Regions from separate parts of the Homo sapiens genome. Here region 2 is linked to region 1. The links are contacts of gene promoters, found by promoter capture Hi-C in blood cells and fetal thymus (Javierre and others, 2016). All regions are on one chromosome and are shown on one strand. Each heading gives the region's core, a stretch centred on a gene start or on the middle of the fragment in contact. The rest is flanking DNA. Distances are from core to core; before and after follow the strand shown.

Region 1 (5,755 bases), core at 827-3,326:
TTTTTTTTTTTTTTTTTTTTTGAGACGTAGTCTTGCTCAGTCGCCTAGGCTGGACGTAGTCTTGCTCAGTCGCCTAGGCTGGAGTGCAGTGGCGCGGTCTGGGCTCACTGCAAGCTCCGCCTCCCGGGTTCACGCCATTCTCCTGCCTCAGCCTCCCCACGGCCGGCTAATTTTTTTTGTATTTTTAGTAGAGAGGGGGTTTCACCATGTTAGCCTGGATGGTCACGATCTCCTGACCCCGTGATCCACCCGCCTTGGCCTCCAAGGTGCTGGGATTACACGCGTGAGCCACCGCGCCCGGCCACTATACTTCTTTTGTGTGCCTTCTGAGGCACATATGATAAAAAAAAAATTGTTTTCAATTTACCAGGATTAACCAAACCCTGATCATTCCCCTTCTATTGTGATACCATGTAACAGAATCCACTTTAAATTATATTTTAGAGGAATGAGGCTAGGCATGATCATACAAAAATTAAAGTCGTTTAATATTTTATCTCGTTTCCTTTCTAAGATCAAAAAATCCACACTTCCTCTTTAAACAAATCCGACGTGTTTTGGAGATACTCTCTTTATTGAGAACATTTTTAGGCATCACTCAGTTTAAAAGTTCTACCCTACAAGAATAAAGGAAGCCTTACTATTTAAGGATAGAGTCAGGTACAGGGATAATAACATCAGCAAAGATTTAATGGACATTTTGCAAAGGGAGATACTCTGATCTTTAGAGCTGATGGCTTAGAGAACTGGGAATCTCATCACTAGAAATAAAGGTGAGAACAAGATACCTACTGAAGTTGTTCAGTACCATCTGAGAAAATGTTAGTGAAAAAGCATAAGCCTTTGCTAACTCTTTCTAATTAGACTTCTCCCAGAATACACTTTATCCTCCAATAATTTTGCAGTAAAAAATAAAATAAAATAAAATAAAACCTTATTATACACACAACCCGTTAGTGGGTTTTCGGGAGAGCAAAGAGTAATGCCCAGGAAAGACTGCACTGTACTGTCACCAAGTACCTCAAGAGCTGTGTGTCGTGACAGCTAAAAAGAGAAAATGAAACAGATTCCATGCTGCCAACAGGCAAGTAAAAAGAAGACAAATTGGTCTGGGTCCCAGGAAGGAATAATCTAAACAGAGTTTTTGTGGACTATAAAACATGGTCCCCTCCTGTGGAAAATAATATTTTGTTTCCACCTACAGTTTTCTTCAAGCAATTACAAGGGCACTAAAAGTGAGAGATTACCTCAGGTGTATAAAAACGAGAATTTCTTTCAGAAATGACTGAGAAAGGGTTCTACCGAGGTTAGACCTCCTACTTTAGAAGCTGTGAGTAAACTTATTTTCAAGTCTAAGTTTCGTGTGAAAGTTTAGCCTCAGAATGAAGGGAACGTTGATATCTTTACTCCCACAATATTTATCGGATACGGAAGTTGAAAACCTGCCTAAATAGGTAACAAATCTTCTGCAAAAGAATGTTACACTCTATAAAGGGATGGGGTAGAGTAAAACGCCAGAAATGAACCTAAACATGCTTCAAGGCTTCCCCACTGTTTAACAAGGAAAAGGGAGTATCCTTAGCAATACTTTTAACTGTCCAGATAGGTAAGTCTTCAAAGTTAAGAACCGCTTCCAGGAAAGTAGCAGGGAAGTGTTTGCATGTGCCTATTCTGGAAAGCCAGGCCGTCCGGTTAAGGTCCCTCAACCGTCCCTACCTATACGTTTTCCGTCTGGCGTGAAATCAGCAGCAAAAGCCCGCTATCTTCCGAAGGAGGCCCCACAAAAATGGCGTCTGTCCCACCCCAATGTGACCAAATAGGGCATTCCCAGCTCCTTTCCCGAACACAGTGCTGGGGTCGCAGTGGCCAGTACCGCCGTTAGAACAGTCACTGCGGCCTGGAACAGGCGTCGGGGTTACTGGCAGAGCAAGCCGAGGTATAGTCCCAGAGGCTTACAGCAGTACCTTTATTCTTGGGCATGGCGGTGATGACAGCCTCGTGAGACCTCTTCCGACTCCTTTCTGGCGGTTACTACTCTAAGAGCCGACTGAACTAAGATGCAGCAGGTGGGTGCGCAGAAGAGGCTGGCTACAGAGCTCTCTAATAAACTGCTGACGCGCACTCTCTGGCGTCACCAAAAGGCGACGCAGCTGATTACGATGCTTTTCCCCGCCTCTCTTCGGCTGAGGCACGGCCAAATGACTGACACCTAGTAGACTCCATCAGGATACCGGAGAGTTTGCTGCAGGATGAATAAACAGGAAGCGGGGCGGGACTCAGCATGGAGAAGGTGGAGTCAAGGATGAAATGGGCGGGGCCCTGGAGTATTCTCCTTTGCTAAAAAACGGTCTTCCAGTTTCAGAAGTTCGTGGGTCATTTAACTGTAAACGCCTAAATTTTAAGAGAGCCCTTACTCTTATACAGTGAATTTGGAGGACTGGCTTAGGACAAGGCCCTCTATGTTCAGAATGTTTATCACTTTTCTCTCTTTTTTTTTTTTTTTTTTGACAACGAAGTTTCGCTCTTGTTGCCCATGCTGGAGTGCAGGGGCGCGATCTGCCCGTCTAATTTTTGTATTTTTAGTAGAGATGGGGTTTCACCATGTTGGCCAGGCTCTCAAACCCCTGACCTAGTGATCCTCCCGCCTCTGCCGCCCAAATTCCTGGGATTGCAGTAGTGAGCCACCGCGCCCGGCCTATTTTTTTCAGTCTTATCTTCTCTACCTCACCACCTCACAGTAAAGCATGTAAGTACAGAGGCCGCATCTGTTGCTTACAATTGCTAGCACCCAGCGGAATACTGACAAAAAGTAGACAGTAAATATATACAGGAAATGGAAAGTAAATATACATAGGAAGGAGTGAGACTAAGCATCTGAATCTTATAATAAATCATGGCTTAACCGAATGTCTCAAATGGACTGGCTGTGGAGGTCAAATTATTTCAAGACAAATTCCATTTGATTATGGTATACAATCATTTAATTTACTGGATTTGTTGTGTGTGTACTATTATGTTTAGAATCTTAGCATCTGTGTTAAGATATATTGGCTTGTATCGTGTGATGACTTTGACTTTAGGATCAATATAATCCCGGCTTCACAGAATGAACTGTGTAGTGTCCCTTTTTCTTCTGTGTTTTTGGACACATTCGAGGATTGATGTAAATTTTTTAAATGGTCCTAGGCCTTAGTTTGGATTATGAATTCGTGCTGTATTTATTCCCAAGTCAGTTCTGGTAGTTTGTATGTACCAGAAATTTGTTCATTTATTCTAAATTATAAAACTTGTTGGGCGTATAATTGGCCATCATATACAAAGTATAGTATCTTCCTAATCCTTTTTTTTCCCTTTCTGCAAGGTAAATAGTATGTATGTATCAGGACTTTGTTCATTTATTCTAAATTATCTTACTTGTTGGGCATATAATTGGCCATCATATACATAGTGTAGTATCCTCCTAATCCTTTTTTTTTCTTTCTTTTTTTCTGCAAGGTAAGTGGTAGTACCCTGATCATCACTACTGGTTTTAAGGAATTTAAGTCTTCATGGTTTTGTTTTTAAAAGCCTAGTGATGAAGCCATAACATTAAAAATAAAATTTTCTCTGAACCCAGAAGTCCTCTCCACAAAGACAGTAGAGAATGAAATCAGTTTTACTGTTAAAAATATGAAATATGAATTTAATGTACATTGTAGAAAATCAACCAAGAGATTACAAAGTCAAAAACAAATCTCGCCTTTTATATAGCTAAGCATCAAGGTAGTCTTCAAGATAGACAAATTTTCTTAAAAGAAATTACTGGTTGATCAGTAGTCTTTAATAAAGAAAATTTAACGGCACCATTTGTCACATACCCTTAGTTTACAATGGTAACAGGGGACCACATGTTATATAGCTAATTGTCTTTAATCAGAAGAGAAACTGACTTCTCATATTTTTAATCTCAAGAGGTTGTTTTGCAGTTCAGAGAAAAGCACCTACTGAGGTTAAGTTCTTACCTTTTACTGAAACTGGAAACAGAGGGGCACCTTCTCTCTTTATGTTTACGTTTCAAAGAGATAGTTCCTAGGTCCATTAGATAAATACTGCTGTGTTGTTGATATGCTTTGGCTTTGTGTCTCCATCCAAATCTCATCTGGAATTATAATCCCCATGTGTTAAGGGAGGGACCTGATGCAAAGCTATTGGATTATGATGTCAGTTACCCCCATGCTGTTCTGATGATAGTGAGGGAGTTCTCACAACAGCTGATGGTTTTAAAAATGTTCTGCAGTTTCACTCTCTCAGCTTCCTGCCTCCATATAAGATGTGTCTTTCTTCCCCTTCACCTTCTACAGTGATTTTAAGTTTCCTGAATCCTCCCCAACCATGCAGAACTGTGAGTCAATTAAACATCCTTTCTTAATGAATTACCGAGTCTCAGGTTGTATTTTTGGAGTAGTGTGATAACAGACTAATACAGAGAATTGGTACCAGGAATGGGGTATTGTGGAAAACCTGAAAATGTGGAATCAACTTTGGAACTGGGTAATGGGGGGAGGTTGGAACAGTTTGAAGGGCCTAGAAGAAGACAGGATTATGTGGGAAATTTTGGCACTTTCTAAAGACTTGAATTTTTTAACCAAAATACTGGTAGTGACATGGAGAATGAAGTCTAGGCTGAGATGGTATCAGATGGAAATGAGGAACTTCTTGGGAACTGGAGTAAAGGAAACACATGCTGTGCTTTAGCACAGCAAATGGTGGTAGTTTGCTCCTGCCCTATGGAACTTTGAATTTGAGAGATATGATTTGAAATTGGAACTTATGTTTAGAAGGGAAACAGACCATAAATGTTAGGAAAATTTGCAGCCTGACCATGTGATAGAAAAGACGAAAAAACCCAGCATTTTCTGGAGAGAAATTAAAGCTGACTGCAGAAATTCGTATAACTAATGAGGAGCTTAATGTTAATAGCTATGACAATGGGGAAAATTACTCTAGGGCATGTCAGAGATCTTCAAGGGAGCTCTTCTCATCACAGGCCCAGAGGCCTAGGAAGAAAAATAGTTTTTTGGGCTGGGCACAGAGTCGTGCTGCCCTGTGCAGCTTTGGGACTTGGCACCCTTCATTCCAGCCTCTCCAGCCTCAGCTGTGGCCCAAAGGGGCCAAAGTACAGCTTGGGTCTTTGCTTCAGAGGGTGCAAGCCCCAAGCCTTGGCAGTTAGGCCAATGGTATTAGGCCTATGGATGCACAGAAGACAAGAGTTGAACCTTGGGAACTTCTGCCTAAATTTCAGAGATATATGGAAATGCCTGGAAGTCCAGGCAGAAGTCTGTTCAGGGTGAAGCACCCAGGGATAACCTCTGCTAGGGCAGTGTGGAAGGGAAATGTGGGATTGGAAGTCCCACACAGAGTTCCCACTGGACCCTGCCTAGTGGAGCTATGAGAAAAGGACCACCATCCTCCAAACCCCAGAATGGTAGATCCTCAGGCAGCTTGCATCATGTGTCTGGAAAAGCTGCAGGCACTCAACACCTGTCTATGAAAGTAGCCACAGGGGGTGTACCTTACAAAGCCCCAGGGACAGAGCTGTGGGAGCTCACACCTTGCATCGGTATCCCCTGGATGTAAGATACGGAGTCAAATGAGGTTTTGGAGCTTTAAGATTAATGACTGCCTGGCCATGTTTTGTACTTGCATAGCGCTTGTGGCCCCTTTGCTTTGGCCTATTTCTTCCATTTGAAATGGTAACATTTACCCAATGCCTGTA
Region 2 (5,755 bases), core at 1,591-4,090, 350 kb before region 1:
AATGCAGAATACCAATGAATACATATACATAATTTTAAATAATGGAATCAATATCCTCTAACTAGAGGGATTGAATAAGATGCATAAACAGGCAGAAACCATAATCAGGGAAATTGCAGATGAACTGTTTAGCATTATTCAGTCTAAGGAATAAGAGAAGAAAAACAATAAAGGAAAATAAGCAAAACTAAGTCAGCCATGGGACACCATCAAGCATATCAACATATCCATAATAAGAGTCTCACAGGAAAAGGAGATAGGAATAGGAAGAATATTTGAATAAAAAATGGTTGAAACTTTCTAAATATACTGTTAAACACAAATCTACCTATCCAAGAATCTCAGTTAAAAAAAATGAAAGGGGGTGGAGCCAAGATGGCCAAATAGGAACAGCTCCTGTCTACAGCTCCCAGAGTGAGTGATGCAGAAGATGGGTGATTTCTACACTTCTATCTGAGGTACTGGGTTCATCTCACTAGGGAGTGCTAGACAGGGGGTGCAGGAATGTGGGTTCACTGCACCGTGCATGAGCCAAAGCAGAGCCAGGCATTGCCTCACTCAGGAAGTGCAAGGAGTCAGGGAGTTCCCTTTCCTAGTCAAAGAAAGGGGTGACAGACAGCACCTGGAAAATCGGGCCACTCTCACCCTAACACTACGCTTTTCCAACAGGCTTAAAAAATGGCACACCAGGAGATTATATCTTGCACCTGGCTCAGAGGATACTATGCCCACAGAGTCTAGCTGATTGCTAGCACAGCAGTCTGAGATCAAACTGCAAGACGGCAGTGAGGCTGGGGGAGGGGCTGCAGCCATTGTCTAGGCTTGATTAGATAAACAAAGCAGCCAGGAAGCTCAAACTGGGTGGAGCCCACCACAGCTCAAGGAGGGCTGCCTGCCTCTGTAGGCTCCACCTCTGGGGGCAGGGCACAGAAAAACAAACAGACAGCAGTAACCTCTGCAGACTTAAATGTCCCTGTCAGAGAGCTTTGAAGAGAGTAGTGGCTCTCCCAGCATGCAGCTGGAGACCTGAGAATGGGCAGACTGCCTCCTCAAGTGGGTCCCTGACCCCAAAGCAGCCTAACGGGGAGGCACCCCCACGTAGGGGCAGACTGACACCTCACACAGCCGGGTACTCCTCTGAGACAAAACTTCCAGAGGAACGATCAGGCAGCAGCGTTTGCATTCACCAAGATCCGCTGTTCTACAGGAATCACTGTTCTGCAGCCACTGCTGCTGATACCCAGGCAAACAGGGTCTAGAGTGGACCTCTAGCAAACTCCAACAGACCTGCAGCTGAGGGTTCTGTCTGTTAGAAGGAAAACTAACAAACAGAAAGGACATCCATACCAAAAACCCTTCTGTATGTCACCATCATCAAAGACCAAAAGTAGATAAAACCACAAAGATGGGGAAATAACAGAACAGAAAAACTGGAAACTCTAATAAGCAGAGCACCTCTCCTCCTCAAAAAGAATGATGCTCCTCACCAGCAACAGAACAAAACTGGACAGAGAATGACTTTGATGAGTTGAGAGAAGAAGGCTCCAGATGATCAAACTACTCCAAGCTACAGGAGGAAATCCAAATCAATGGCAATGAAGTTAAAAACTGTAAAAAAAATTAGATGAATGGATAACTAGAATAACCAATGCAGAGAATGCTTTAAAGGAGCTGATGCAGCTGAAAGCCAAGGCTCAAGAACTACGTGAAGAATGTAGAAGCCTCAGGAGCCAATGTGATCAACTGGAAGAAAGGTTATCAGTGATGGAAGACAAAATCAAAGAAATGAAGTGAGAAGGGAAGTTTAGAGAAAAAAGAATAAAAAGAGATGAACAAAGCCTCCAAGAAATAGAGGACTATGTGAAAAGACCAAATCTACATCTGATTGGTTTACCTGAAAGTGATGGGGAGAATGGAAACAAGTTGGAAAACACTCTGCAGGATATTATCCAGGAGAACTTCCCCAATCTAGCAAGGCAGGCCAACATTCAGATTCAGAAAATACAGAGAATGCCACAAAGATACTCCTCGAGAAGAGCAATTCCAAGACACATAATTGTCAGCTTCACCAAAGTTGAAATGAAGGAAAAAATGTTAAAGGCAGACAGAGAGAAAGGTCGGGTTACCCACAAAGGGAAGCCCATCAGACTAACAGTGGATCTCTCAGCAGAAACTCTACAAGCCAGAAGAGAGTGGGGGCCAATATTCAACATTCTTAAAGAAAAGAATTCTCAACCCAGAAATTCATATCCAGCCAATCTAAGCTACATACGTGAAGGAGAAATAAAATCCTTTACAGAGAAGCAAATGCTGAGAAATTCTGTCACTACCAGCCTGTCCTAAACGTGCTCCTGAAGGAAGCACTAAATGTGGAAAGGAAAAACTGGTACCAGCCACTGCAAAATCATGCTAAATTGTAAAGACCATTGAGGCTAGGAAGAAACTGCATCAACTAACGAGCAAAATAACCAGCTAACATCATGATGACAGCATCAAATTCACACATAACAATATTAACTTTAAATGTAAATGGACTAAATGCTCCAATTAAAAGACACAGACTGGCAAATTGAATTAAGAGTCAAGACCCATCAGTGTGCTGTATTCAGGAAACCCATCTCACGTGCAGAGACACACACAGGCTCAAAATAAAAGGATGGAGGAAGATCTGCCAAGCAAATGGAAAACAAAAAAAGGCAGGGATTGCAATCCTAGTCATTGATAAAACAGATTTTAAACCAACAAAGATCAAAAGAGACAAAGAAGGCAATTACGTAAAGGGATCAATTCAACAAGAAGAGCTAACTATCCTAAATATATATGCACCCAATATAGGAGCACCCAGATTCATAAAGCAAGTCCTTAGTGACCTAGAAAGACAGTTAGACTCCCAAACAATAATAATGGGAGATTTTAACACTCCACTGTCAACATTAGACAGATCAATGAGACAGAAAGTTAAAAAAGATACCCAGGAATTGAACTCAGTTCTGCACCAAGCAGACCTAATAGACATCTACAGAACTCTCCACACCAAATCAACAGAATATACATTTTTTTCATCACCACACTACACCTATTCCAAAATTGACCACATACTTGGAAGTAAAGCACTCCTCAGCAAATGTAAAAGAACAGAAATTATAACAAACTGTCTCTTAGACCACTGTGCAATCAAACTACAACTCAGGATTAAGAAACTCCTTCAAAACCACTCAACTACATGGAAACTGAACAACCTGCTCCTGAATGACTACTGGGTACATAACAAAATGAAGGCAGAAATAAAGATGTTCTTTGAAATCAACGAGAACAAAGAACAACATACTAGAATCTTTGGGACACATTCAAAGCAGTGTGTAGAGGGATATTTATAACACTAAATGCCCACAAGAGAAAGCAGGAAAGATCCAAAATTGACCCCCTAAAATCACAATTAAAAGAACTAGAGAAGCAAGAGCAAACACATTCAAAAGCTAGCAGAAGGCAAGAAATAACTAAAATCAGAGCAGAACTGAAGGAAATAGAGACAAAAAAAAAAAAAAAAAAACGCTTCAAAAAATTAATGAATCCAGGAGCTGGTTTTTTTGGAAAGATCAACAAAATTGATAGACTGCTAACAAGACTAATAAAGAAGAAAATAGAGAAGAATCAAATAGACACAATAAAAAATGGTAAAGGGGATATCACCACCGATCCCACAGAAATACAAACTACCATCAGAGAATACTATAAAAACCCCTATGCAAATAAACTAGAAAATCTAGAAGAAATGGATACATTCCTCGACACATATGCACTCCCAAGACAAAACCACGAAGAAGTTGAATCTCTGAATAGACCAATAACAGGCTCTGAAATTGTGGCAATTGTCAATAGCTTACCAACAAAAAAAGGACAAGGTAGATTCACAGCCGAATTCTACGAGAGGTACTAGGAGGAGCTGGTACCATTCCTTCTGAAACTATTCCAATCAATAGAAAAAGAGGGAATCCACTCTAACTCATTTTAAGAGGCAAGCATCATCCTGATACCAAAGCCTGGCAGAGGCACAACAAAAAAGAGAATTTTAGACCAATATCCTTGATGAACATTGATGCAAAAATCCACAATAAAATACTAGCAACCCAAATCCGGCAGCACATCAAAAACTTATCCACCATGATCAAGTGGGCTTCATCCCTGGGATGCAACACTGGTTCAACATATGCAAATCAATAAATGTAATCCAGCATCCAGCATATAAACAGAACCAAAGACAAAACCATATGATTATATCAATAGATGCAGAAAAGGCCTTTGACAAAATTCAACAAGCCTTCATCCTAAAAACTCTCAATAAATTAGGTATTGATGGGGCATATCTCAAAATAATAAGAGCTATCTATGATAAACCCACACTCCTATTCAACAGAGTGTTGGACGTTCTGGCCAGGGCAGTTAGGTAGGAGAAGGAAATAAAGGGTATTCAATTAGGAAAAGAGGAATTCAAATTGTGCCTGTTTGCGGACGACATGATTGTATATCTAGAAAACCCCTTTGTCTTGGCCCAAAATCTCCTTAAGCTGATAAGCAACTTCAGCAAAGTCTCAGGAAACAAAATCTATGTATAAAATCACAAGTATTCTTATACACCAATAACGGACAGAGAACTAAATCTTGAGTGAACTCCCATTCACAATTGCTTCAAAGAGAATAAAATACCTAGGAATCCAACTTAAAAGGGATGAGAAAGACCTCTTCAAGAAGAACTACAAACCACCACTCAATGAAATAAAAGAGGATACAAACCAATGGAAGAACATTCTATGCTCATGGGTAGGAAGAATCAATATCATGAAAATGGCCATAGTCCCCAAGGTAATTTATAGATTCAATGTCATCCCCATCAAGCTACCAATGAATTTCTTCACAGAATTGAAAAAACTACTTTAAAGTTCATATTGAACCAAAAAAGAGCCTTCATTGCCAAGTCAATCCTAAGCCAAAAGAACAAAGTTGGAGGCATCACGCTACCTGACTTCAAACTATACTAGAAGGCCACAGTAACCAAAACAGCATGGTACTCTTACCAAAGGAGAGATACAGATCAATGGAACAGAACAGAGCCCTCAGAAATAAAGCCGCATATCTACAACCACCTGATCTTTGACAAACCTGACAAAAACAAGAAATGGGGAAAAGATTCCCTATTTAATAAATGGTATTGAGAAAACTGGCTAGCCATATGTAGAAAGCTGAAACTATATCCCTTCCTTACACCTTATAAAAAAGTTAACTCAAGATGGATTAAAGATTTACATGTGAGACCTAAAACCATACAAACCCTAGAAGAAAACCTAGGCTATACCATTCAGGACATAGGCATGGGCAAGAACTTCATGTCTAAAACAGAAAAAGCAATGGCAACAGAAGCCAAAATTGACAAATGGGATCTAACAGATCTAAACTAAAGAGCTTCTGCACAGCAAAAGAAACTACCATCAGAGTGAACAAGCAACCTACAAAATGGGAGAAAATTTTTGCAACTTACTTATCTGACAAAGGGCTAATATAAAGAATCTAGAATGAACTCAAACAAATTTACAAAAAAAAGCAAACAACCCCATCAAACAGTGGGTGAAAAGTGGGCAAAGGATATGGAGAGACACTTCTCAAAAGAAGACATTTAGGCAGCCAAAAAACACATGAAAAAGTGCTTATCATCACTGGCCATCAGAGAAATGCAAATCAAAACCACAGTGAGATACCATCT

Evidence for each region. Contacts are between HindIII fragments. The CHiCAGO score rates a contact against its expected background, and 5 or more counts as called.
Region 2: a fragment that was not itself captured here is called in contact with the fragment with the promoter of EIF1AY in region 1 in 1 of 17 cell types (neutrophils); the score reaches 5.3 in neutrophils.

The regions. Positions count from the first base shown.
Region 1 is chrY:20,572,097-20,577,851 of GRCh38, reverse strand. EIF1AY (eukaryotic translation initiation factor 1A Y-linked) reads right to left here and starts at 2,076. Exons shown (of 7, transcript NM_004681.4): 1 at 1,965-2,076. The coding sequence starts at 1,980. It overlaps TTTY10 (testis expressed transcript, Y-linked 10), which reads left to right and starts at 2,337. Exons shown (of 10, transcript NR_197944.1): 1 at 2,337-2,746. The HindIII fragment of the contact is 11,947 bases long and covers 1-5,755 here.
Region 2 is chrY:20,920,614-20,926,368 of GRCh38, reverse strand. No RefSeq gene overlaps it. Among named protein-coding and RNA genes, the nearest start is that of RPS4Y2, 170 kb to the right of the region's middle. The HindIII fragment of the contact is 8,728 bases long and covers 1-5,755 here.